Linked DNA regions of Homo sapiens: regions 1 and 2 are each linked to region 3. The links are contacts of gene promoters, found by promoter capture Hi-C in human tissues and cell types (Jung and others, 2019). All regions are on one chromosome and are shown on one strand. Each heading gives the region's core, a stretch centred on a gene start or on the middle of the fragment in contact. The rest is flanking DNA. Distances are from core to core; before and after follow the strand shown.

What was found. The method cuts DNA at HindIII sites, captures the fragments that hold promoters and counts their contacts. A contact is called where the count stands out against the background at its distance.
Region 1: a fragment that was not itself captured here is called in contact with the fragment with the promoter of OR2S2 in region 3 in 1 of the 25 tissues and cell types used here (mesenchymal stem cells).
Region 2: a contact is called between a fragment that was not itself captured here and the fragment with the promoter of OR2S2 in region 3, in 2 of the 25 tissues and cell types used here (mesenchymal stem cells and thymus).

Annotation. Positions count from the first base shown.
Region 1 is chr9:36,215,648-36,219,166 of GRCh38, forward strand. GNE (glucosamine (UDP-N-acetyl)-2-epimerase/N-acetylmannosamine kinase) reads right to left here. Exons shown (of 12, transcript NM_005476.7): 11 at 2,536-2,652; 12 at 1-1,953. The coding sequence ends at 1,718. Among named protein-coding and RNA genes, the nearest start is that of CLTA, 26 kb to the left of the region's middle. The HindIII fragment of the contact is 7,322 bases long and covers 1-3,519 here.
Region 2 is chr9:36,339,700-36,343,301 of GRCh38, forward strand. It overlaps RNF38 (ring finger protein 38), which reads right to left. Exons shown (of 12, transcript NM_022781.5): 11 at 2,626-2,725; 12 at 1-115. The coding sequence ends at 53. Among named protein-coding and RNA genes, the nearest start is that of RNF38, 59 kb to the right of the region's middle. The HindIII fragment of the contact is 3,787 bases long and covers 286-3,602 here.
Region 3 is chr9:35,956,349-35,960,058 of GRCh38, forward strand. OR2S2 (olfactory receptor family 2 subfamily S member 2) reads right to left here and starts at 1,806. Exons shown (of 1, transcript NM_019897.2): 1 at 760-1,806. The coding sequence starts at 1,750. The coding sequence ends at 791. The HindIII fragment of the contact is 4,346 bases long and covers 1-3,710 here.

The sequences.
Region 1 (3,519 bases), core at 687-3,186, 260 kb after region 3:
TTAGGATAATGTATATGAAGCACCTAGTTCAGAGCCTGGCACACAGTAGGCACTTAATAAGTGGTGGCAGTTAGTATTTCTTCCAAGTTAACAATTCATAGCCAGAACTTTGGCTTTTGTATTTTGACACCAATGAAAACACGAATCATGTAGACAGAATCCTGATTCATGGCTCTGGGCTCTAGGTAAAACTCAAAACTTTAATGGACACCCTAGGGTGTTACTCAACACAGTATGAAAGGCTACTGAAGGAAGAAGTGTCTGCTGGTCAGTAGCAAAGATCCTTTTGGGACAGTTAATCTCCTTTTAAAGGCTCTAAGTCCCAGTGGCTTCTCAGCTGTCCTAAGAAGATAAGGACAAGGTCACTAAGGCCACTGTAATTTAGATCCCTGGTCTAAAGTCTCTTGTAAGTTCAGCTAGAGTAATAACATCTTTCAACAAATGGTATCCAGGATTAGGGGGGATATCTGAGATGGGGGAGTGATAGATATGTCCAGTGTCTTGATTGTGGTGATGCTTTCACAGGTATACATATGTCAAGGCTTATCAAATTGTAGGCTTTAAAAACAATAAAGCTGTTTTAAAAAAAAGTGTACTTAAGCCCTTCCTGGTAAGATTTCCCTCTGTTCTCTGACTGGATCACCTTCTGTGATCTTAGTTTGGGGTTAGAGGAGGAAGGATGTGTGTGTGTGTGTGTGTGTGTGTGTAGACGGAGTCTCGCTCTGTCACCCAGGGTGGAGTGCAGTGGCATGATCTCGGCTCACTGCAACCTCCGCCTCCCGGGTTCAAGCAATTCTCCTGCCTCAGCCTCCCGAGTAGCTGGGACTACAGGCACATGCCACCACGCCCGGCTAATTTTTGTATTTTAGTAGAGATGGGGTTTCACCATGTTGGCCAGGCTGGTCTTGAACTCCTGACCTCAGGTGATCCGCCCATCTCGGCCTCCCAAAATGTTGGGATTACAGGCGTGAGCCACTGCGCCCAGCTGGAAGGATTATTATTATTATTATTATTATTATTATTATTTATTATTATTATTTTTGAGATGGAGTCTTGCTCTGTCACCCAGGCTGGAGTGCAGTGGTGCGGTCTCAGTTCACTGCCAGCTCCGCCTCCCTGGTTCATGCCATTCTCCTGCCTCAGCCTCCCGAGTAGCTGGGACCCGCCACCACACCCAGCTAATTTTTTGTATTTTTAGTAGAGACGGGGTTTCACCATGTTTCACCATGTTAGCCAGGGCGGTCTCGATCTCCTGACCTCGTGATCCGCCCGCCTCGGCCTCCCAAAGTGCTGGGATTACAGGCGTGAGCCACTGTGCCCGGCCTGGAAGGATTATTAATGCAAACTTCAGGATGAAGTGATATCCCAGGCAAGGCCTGAAGGTCTCAGTGGTATTAATACATTAGTAAGCAGAGTTCTAAGAAGGCTTCCTCTCTATTATTGTAGCTGCTTTGGCACAGAAAATTGTGACTGTAACTTACAGGGTTTGAGCTAAAATGACCCCTAGTAAGAAGACATCAGAAAGAATAGCATCTACAAAAATAGGAGTGGGGAAAGGTGACTCTGGAAGAGGAGACCAAAAGTGAAAACATTTCTCTGCCAAAGTCACCTGCAGTTCAATACCAGATTTGATTGTTAAGAAACGGTCATCCTAAAGACAAGAACTTGATTCCACTCAGGAGCTCTGGAGAGAAGGTCCATGTCTGTTCCTGGAGGTCTAGTAGATCCTGCGTGTTGTGTAGTCCAGAACCATGCTGGCAGCACCCAGCAGGGCGGGGTCAACCAAATCCGAAACCACCACATCCACGTCCTGCACGGAGGACAAGGCCTGCTGGCGAATGACGTCTTTGACAATGTGGATATAGTGACTGGCCAGGACTCCGGAGAGGATCACAAGGGAGGGATTCATGGTATGGAGGATGTTCACAACCCCAAGACCCAAAGCTGTTCCAGCTATAGGGAGACAAAAATTAAAATGAGTTTCTGAGAGAAGCCAAAATCAAAATACCAAAGAGGAAGGCAGAAAAGAGCCAGCAGCAGAAATGTTAAAGAACATCCACGGCATGCAGTGGGAGGCAGTGTTTTAAAAGCAGTTCACGGTTGATTCTTAATATGAGAAAATGATCATGTGACAGCCTCAAGTGGAAAAAGCCGGGTGTACCACATGATCTCCACTAGGCAAAAAAATGAATAGAAAGACTCGAAGGAAATGTTAATAGTTGATACCTCCAAATGGGAAAACTAAGTGATATTTTTTCTTACAACTGTCCTATATTTCTCTAAATTTCCTGTAAAATGAAAGGAGCATTTTTATAGTTGTCAAACCAAACCAACCACCTGCTGAAAAAGGCAATGCTGCCAAATACCTTGAATCCAATTCCCTTTTTACCTCTGAGTAATTAGGAAAGAAACCTCTGAACAGACACTGCAAAGCACCTGTCCCTAGGGAAGCAGGGTCTCTTCTGGGGCCGGGCTGGGCCATATGATATCTGAGGCCACCCCCTGCAGCACAGCCACCTGCAGCCACATGCTCACCTGTTCTTAGGATGCTCTGGGCCTTCGCATTGCCAAGTTTCGCAGCTTGGATGAGATGGAGCGCACCCACAGCCTCATCTTTTGGCACTGACATCCCTTCCACCAAGAGCAGGTCCTCTGAACAGAGTGAGAAGGAAAAGCAGTCACTAATGAGCTGTGGGGAGGCCAAGCTCACCACTGGGCCTGTGGAAAGCAAGCCCCTACATGGGAAGACGGTGTTTTCTTTTCACAATTGCAAAGCTTATCGTTCACAAACATCTCTATACACTGCCCCTAAAGCCTTTGCTACCCTCTTGCTAATTGGTTGTACATAACCCAGAACCTATCTTCCTGGAAAAACCTCAAGTCTGACGACAGCCTCCTACCCCTCTGGCTCCCTCACTTCTCACTTCCAGTAGCAGACAGTCTTTGAAGTGTTCTTTTCTCCAAATTATCACCCTCCTCCCACATTCACTCCTTCCTTACTCATCCCAGACACAATGCTGTGCCATCTGCCAGCGCCACGCGTTCTATGGCAGCGAGGCACAGTGGCTGAGGAACAGACACAGGCCTGGGGTCAGTGCCAGCTCTGCCACTCCCAGCTGCATGACCCCATGCCTGTCACCTCACCTGTACACATTCCTCCTTCCTAGAAGATGAGACCAGTAGTGCCTCCCCTGGCAGGGTTATTTGAGGAACGGAATGAGATCATGGACATAAAGTATTTAGTTAAGTGCTGGCCACAGTAAATGCTCAGTAAGCAGCAGGTATTTCTGTGGTTATCTGTAGTCCTTGTCTTCTGCCCGTCACCAACTCAGATCAATCTGCCTCCTACTAATCTGCTAGAATATCTGGACCCTGAAGGAGAAAAATCCCCAGCTGTGCAAACTGCAACCTAGACATCAACTGGTGGTCTCCTGTCTCCCCTGGGCCCTCACAGCTCTCACCCATTCTCTCTGACTGCGCTTTTCTATACCTTCACCACCTTCCCAGTCCTTCTACCCC
Region 2 (3,602 bases), core at 929-3,428, 380 kb after region 3:
TATATACATGTGATGAGGAACACCCAAACTAAATTTGTGCTTCTTAGGTTGGTCATTCTGAATCCCGATGCACTTCTGAAGCATCAGCTCGGCAAATTGGGCAAGTACGATTTGCCTACAAAACAAAAAGGAAAACTTGTTTAAATTGTGACACATACAATGAAACACATTCAAAGCAATGGAACTACTTTTACTTCCCACAGTTTTTACATTCTTTCTTCCTCTGAAGAGGTACAAAGCAATTTTTGCCTTTTTTTAACCCATAAACCTCCGAATTAGCCCAGGAATTTTTTTTTTGAGATGGAGTTTCGCTCTTGTTGCCCAGGCTGGAGTGCAATGGCACGATCTCAACTCACTGCAACCACTGCCTCCTGGGTTCAAGCGATTCTCCCGTCTCAGCCTCCCGAGCAGCTGAGATTACAGGTGCCCACCACCATGCCTGGCTAATTTTTGTATTTTAGTAGAGACGGGGTTTCACCATGTTGGTCAGGCTGGTCTCAAACTCCTGACCTCGGGTGATCCACCCACCATGGCCTCCCAAGGTGCTGGGATTACAGGCGTGAGCCACTGCGCCTGGCCGCCATGAATGATTTTTAGTAGGTCTGTTAAAATATATAAACAAGATTACCATTGACCAGTTTGGACCAAGTTAACAACTGACATTAAAGTAAAAGCTTGGTTAGTCTTTTTTTCCCCCGTTTTTTGAGACAGGGTTAAACCCTGTTGCCCACAGGAGCACAGTGGCATGACTACAGCTCACTACAGACTTGAACTCCTGGGCCTAAGTGATCCTCCTGCTTCAGCTTCCTGAAAACCTAGGATTAACAGGTGTGTGCCACCACACCCAACCAATTTAAAAGACGGGTTTCACTAAGTTGCCCAGGCTGGTCTCAAACTCCAGGCCTCAAATGATCCTCCTGCCTTTGCCTCCCAAAATGTTGGGATTACATGCCTGAGTCACCATTCCTGGCCCCTTGGCTATTCTTAATGGAATGAAGTCACAGAAAACATTTAGTGGTACCGAGGAAAGCTTGATTGTAAAATAGGTGACTGACTCTATACTGATAGCTCTACTTACTCACCTGTTCCCTGGCTCCTAAATTTGCTTTCTCCATTTCAACAAATGGGACCATAATTTGTGGAGTTGCTAATGCCAGACACATAAGCATCACCTGCTCTCCTACTTCCTACAACCCCATTATTCAGCACATAATCTTATTTCTGCATTACAGTAATTCTCAAATCAGTCCCTCTTTTCATCTAGTTGCTACTATCCATTCTCTGGCCCACCATGTCTTTATTCTATCTCCCTGTCTCTCAGAAATTACCTCTTTTATTAGAACAGTGGCCAGAAATCCTTCTATAAAACAGTCTGTTATATACTTCCCAAATGCTTTCAGGATCACACTAAACTCCTTTACGCTTCAGAGTGGCTTCACAACAAGCCGCTCATTGATTTTATCTCTGAACACCTTTTCTTTTCCCACTCTTCCTCACATTCCAACTATCAGCCACACGGAACTTGTGGTTTTCTGATTCTCTGTCCGCACGTGTCAGGGATTTACACATATAATGCTTTCCTTTTAAAATAATTTAAGACTCTTTGTCTTCAGGATTGAGTTTGGGCTAAACTAGATCTCTGGAACTGTGCTCCCTCAGAACTGACTTTATCTTCCTCACCAAATAGTAAGGTTATCTAGTTTTATCCAAACCGGAACACTTAATTTAAAAAATAACATAAATTTGACTATATTTTTTTTATATAGTCATGGAGCCACTGCACCCAGCCTATTAAAATTCTTTTACTGTATCACATTTTACTGTATCACAATTTGAGACTATGAAACTATGAAGAGTAAAAAAGCAGCTTTTGTAAACTTTTTTTTTTAAACATTAAATAGCCAGGTGCAGTATATAATCCCAACACTTTGGGAGGCTGAGGTGGGAGGATTGCTTGGGCCCAAGAGTTCCAGACCAGTCTGGGCAACATAGTGACACCCAGTCTCGCTTGAGCCTGGGATGTCAAGGCTACATTGAGCCATGACTGTACCGCTGCACTCCAGACTGGGTGACACACTGAGACCCTGTTTCAAAATATATATATATATATATATATATATATATATATATATATATATATATATATATATATATATATATATATATAAAGAAGCCCCTGCAATAATTTCACTCTGGCATAGCCACTCTTAGGATTTGTGTCCTTTGTGCTTTTGTTCATATATACAAAGGAGAAAATGGTCAGAATTAAATAAAAACACTAGATGTATTTTTCTCCATGCTAACCTCTGAAAATAGAGCTATAATTAGGTAGCCTTCTAAACTCTCAAACTGTGGCCTAGCAAGTTCGGGCCTTGTCCCTATATACCATGAAAAAGGACATACTGATTGTCAAGAGGTCATCCATTTTGGATTTTGTATAGTCACTCCTATGTTGTTGACTGCAGTTAATTTTTACTGGCCTTTTCTCATTTGCAGAGATCATACTGAAAGCTGTGTTTCCATTTTGTCTTCCTTCCTGTCCACTGAGCTATGAACTTACTCTAATCCATGGTCAATAAAATAGAAAATTCAATGTCATTTCCTTTAAAGATGTCATCACTTTACCTTAAGCCATTTGTCAACACACTTGGCATGGAACTCGTGGTTACAGGGTAAGACTCTAAGTAGCTGCCTTGACTCAAAATCACACATGCATACTACACACCTAAAAAAAGCAAAAAGATCATTTAACCACAAAACCAGATGGTTTTCTATTGTTATGACTACTGAAACCTACAAGATAATTTATTCTGTTATCAAAACGTCACTTAAATTTTTAAACAAAATTATCAACCAATACCCTGAAAAAATTGTGATGTTAAGGCAGTAAGAGTTTTGCTTTGCTGACAGATTAGCAAGAAAATTTCTAGTTAACATCAAGTCAATCTTAATACCAAAGATTCTATACTATTTAAAAAAAAATGGTATTAGAACTGGATGTCCACATACAAAAGAATAAAGGTGGACCCCTACCTCATACCATATATAAAAACTGACTCAAATGGATCAAAAGCTTAAGTGTTAAGAGCTGATCTATTAACCTCTTAGAAGAAAACACAGTAAATTTTCATGACCTTGGATTAGACAATGGTTTCTTGGAGATGACATTAAAAGCACAAGAATTAACAAGAAAAAAAGAAATGCAGTTGTTCTTCAGTATTTGAGGGGGATTGATTTCTAGGACCTGCAATGGATACTAAAATCTGCAGATGTTCAAATCCTTTATATACAATGGTATAGTATTTGTGACCTATGCACACCCTCCCATATGCTTTAAAATCATCACTATAATACTTAATACAATGTAAGTGCTATGTAAATAGTTGTTATACTGTATTGTTCTTTATTTGTACTATGTATTGCTCTATTGTTATTTTCTATTTTTATTTTTTCCTGAATATTTTCAATCTTTGGTTGGTTGAATACAGAGGGCTTAGTGTAGGCTGAAATAAACCAAAATCAAAATTTAAACATTTTGTGCTTCAAAGGACATCACTGAAAAACTCAACAATCCACAGAATGGCAAAACATTTTTTTTACAC
Region 3 (3,710 bases), core at 556-3,055:
TCTGTCTCAAAAAAAAAAAAAAAAAAGAAATTAGACCCAAAGTCTTCAAACATGTGTAGCCACCATCTGTCTACTTCTATCTATATCTATCTACCATCATCTTTTTTCTAGAACATGATTTGGCATCTATCAGAATACAAGCTTTGCTGTTGTGAAATTCTGTAAGAACGTCAAATTTGAACTCATTACTCCTTGAATTTTATTTAATTTACTAGGTGGTGTTCAATGATCTGCAGTGCATCAGGAAAAAATAGCCTAAATTTTCTCATAGCTAAAAAGATATTCAGTCATCAAAATAGATTATTCACAACTAAAAGCTCCCTAAGTGAAGAACTTACCTTTTCTTAGCCATTCAGGCAAACTGAGTGTAATAAACTGAAGCCTCAGTAAAAGTTTCCACTCCCTCCTTATTTCTCTGATTTCCCTGGTGAATCCAGTAGGGCTGGTAAGTTGCTGTGAGAACATTCTCACGTCCCTGTTCTAACTCTAGAGCTGAGACACTCTAAGGGCCATGCGTCATGCTTTCATGGCTGCTGTCTCGTGTGGTTTTACCGTATGTTCAGAATGCCTTCATCACAGTTGATTATTTATTGAGTCTGGTGTCTGTTGAAGCTGTCAGACATAGGACTAAAACTCAGGAGATATCGTCTGAAAAGTTTAATATCTCCTGCAAATGGACTTAGAGTGAGAAACCATTATAGGTCACATGACTTGGCTTTTGAATGGCAGCTGATGTGATTGTGATTCCTTACTTCCATGTGGGTGACAATCACAGAGGACCCTTCCACCATCACTGAGTGAAGCCTTTTGGTCTCAGCAGTCTCCTCACAGCAGCCTTCACATCCTTGTTCCTCAGGCTATAGATGATGGGGTTGAGCATCGGGGTCACCACCCCATAGAAAAGGGGGATGAGTTTGTCTGAAAGATCCTCTTTGTCTGCTCCCATGGAGTCCTTAGACTTAGGCTTCCCATACATGAAGAATAAGGTCCCGTAGAAGACGATCACCACGGTGAGGTGGGCAGAGCAGGTGGAGAAGACCTTTTTCCTCCCCTCAGCTGAGGGGATCCTCAGGATGGTGGTGATGATGAAGACATAGGAGAAAGAGATGAACAGAACCGGGACTCCTAGGAAGATCACATTCGTCACCTCCATGCTGATCACATTGATGGAAATGTCAGCACAGGCCAACTTTAGAACAGCCAGAATCTCACAGGTGAAGTGGTTGATGACATTGTCTCCACAGAAGGGCAGCTGAATTGCCAAGGATGTGTGTACCACGGAAGCAGCACCACCAATAGCCCAGGAGCTGGCAGCCATGGGCATGTAGGCAGCCTTGCTCATGATCACGGAGTACCTAAGGGGGTTGCAGATGGCCACATAGCGATCAAATGCCATCATGCTCAGGAGCAAGCACTCTGTTCCTGCCATGGCAAAGGAGAGTGCCATCTGCACAGCACAGGCTGAGAAGGAGATGGTTTCCTGGGGAGTCAAAAAGCTGTCCAGGACCAGTGGGACTGAGGAGGTAGTGAAGCAGATGTCCAGGAAGGAGAGGTTCCCTAGGAAGAAGTACATGGGCGTGTGCAGGCGGGAGTCAAGGATGGTCACCAGGATGAGGACCCCATTGCCCAGCAGGATCACGAGGTACATCAGCAGGATGAGCACGAAGAATGTCTTTTCCAGCTCTGGGTGGGCAGAGAGCCTCAGGAGAACGAACCCCATCACAGGGGAGGTCTCATTGGCTTTTTCCATGTGATATCCCCTCTGCCATCAGCAAAGTACTGAGCAGCGCATCAGGCTTTTTGGGAAGAGTCCTAGGCATCTAATATGTGGTCAAGTTCCCATTGCATAATAGAAGAACATATCTGTGCAAGAGAAAAATGACGGAAAGAGACAGTAGGGGGTGTCTTAGAAGACAGAAGGTCAGAGCTGGACAGGTAGTGGGTGAGGGCCTCAAATGTCCGGTTGTGCATGAGGGATTTTTCTGAAGTTGCTGCACCCTCTCAGTGTCCACAAAGGTGATAGAGGCCTGGGGAGGAGAAGTGACCTGTCCAAATCTTCTGAGCAAGTTGGTGACAGAGACAAGACTTGAACCCAGCAGAGCATATCCCTGGCCCAAGGAGGGCTTTTCCTCTTCATTGTGATTAAGTGCTAGGAAATGCTATGAATTATTTCTCTTTAATGCAAATCCACAGCAATTTCATTTGATCTGGGCTTTCTTAGATTCTCAGAGAGGAAAATTCCCAAGAAGATGCAATTCTTGGACCTAGCAAGTGATTAAGTTTCTTTAAACTTTGATTACACGTGGGGAGGAAATTGCGCAAAATTGTTCAACCATATTCACACAGAAACAAGCCTAGTTAATATTCAGCCATAAAGAGCATTACTTCTTCAGTCTAGTGACACAGGCTTGAGCATTGACAGGAATAGATCTGCCTATTTGAAATATGGATTTATTGCAATATATGGGGAGGTCCTATAGCTGGGAAATTTATGAAGCCAACAAATGGATTTGTTGGAGTGACTGAACTCACACCATGAGACAACACTGTGTAGCTTACCAGTTAGTTAATGCAATATTAATAACCACACTCTAACTATAGTTATCGATAGTAGAGTATATGGCATTAACTTCTGATCCCATCTCATTAGGATGTCTGTGAAATTCCTAACCGTGAATGACTAAGAATGTTTTTTCTTTGTCCTTTTATGTTTGCATTTTATTCTTGCATTATCTTCTGACTCTCTGACTCCATTCTTGAGTTCTATGCAAGCAGCTGGCTTATAGGAAGACTTATATGCCTTTGTATAGAGGATATCTAGTCTCTTACTTGCAATTTCCCTGACTCTAAATTCAAAGTACTCATAGATAATATTTTGATAGCTCCTTCTTAATGACAGTGGCTCTATGAGTGTGTATAAGAGTGGGTGGATGATGGAAGATGAGTGGTTAATATTAATATTAGTGAGAATATTAGGGATTCTCACTAATATTAAGGAATATAAGCTGTGCCATATTTCTTGAAACAGCTCATGGAGAAGATATTATCATTCAGGTTTTACAGGTGAAGTAACTGGAGCTCAGAAGATAAATTTGCTCCTTGGGGTTGAATGGCAGAGCTGGAGTTGGATTCCAAGACCTAGTCCTGAGTTCTTTCACGAAACAGCTGCTTTTCTCTTTTGGTGCACAGCTTTGCAAAAGATTCTGTCCCTCCAATATTAGACAGATCTTATAGTCCTATTTATAATTTTCTCTGTGCTAATATTGCTATAGCATAATGATAAATTAAAAGGACAAAGTCAAACTTGTACACACTGTTATGATCTCAATTAGCTCTGTGTATTCTCTGGCCAGTCTCACTGTCTGTCCAACACTCTCTCTTCAGTCATGGGGGAGGGTTTATGTCAGATGTGTTGTCAGGCAGTGCACCTCCCACCCTAAATGGAACTCAGGGTTTCTCAAATTCTTTACGATTGACATTTTGTGCTGGATAACCCTTTGGTGTGAGGGCTGTCCTGTGCATTGTAGGATGTTTAGCAGAGTCTCTGACCTCCACCAATCAGTTGCCAATAGCACCTTCTACCCTGAGTTGTAACAATCAAAATGTTTCCAGACGCTGCCACATGCTTCCAGGGGAAAGGTGTGTGTGTTGGGGCGGGGGGGGGGGGGTTGGCGGGGGGGACGGTGCAAAATTATACCCAGAAGAGAACG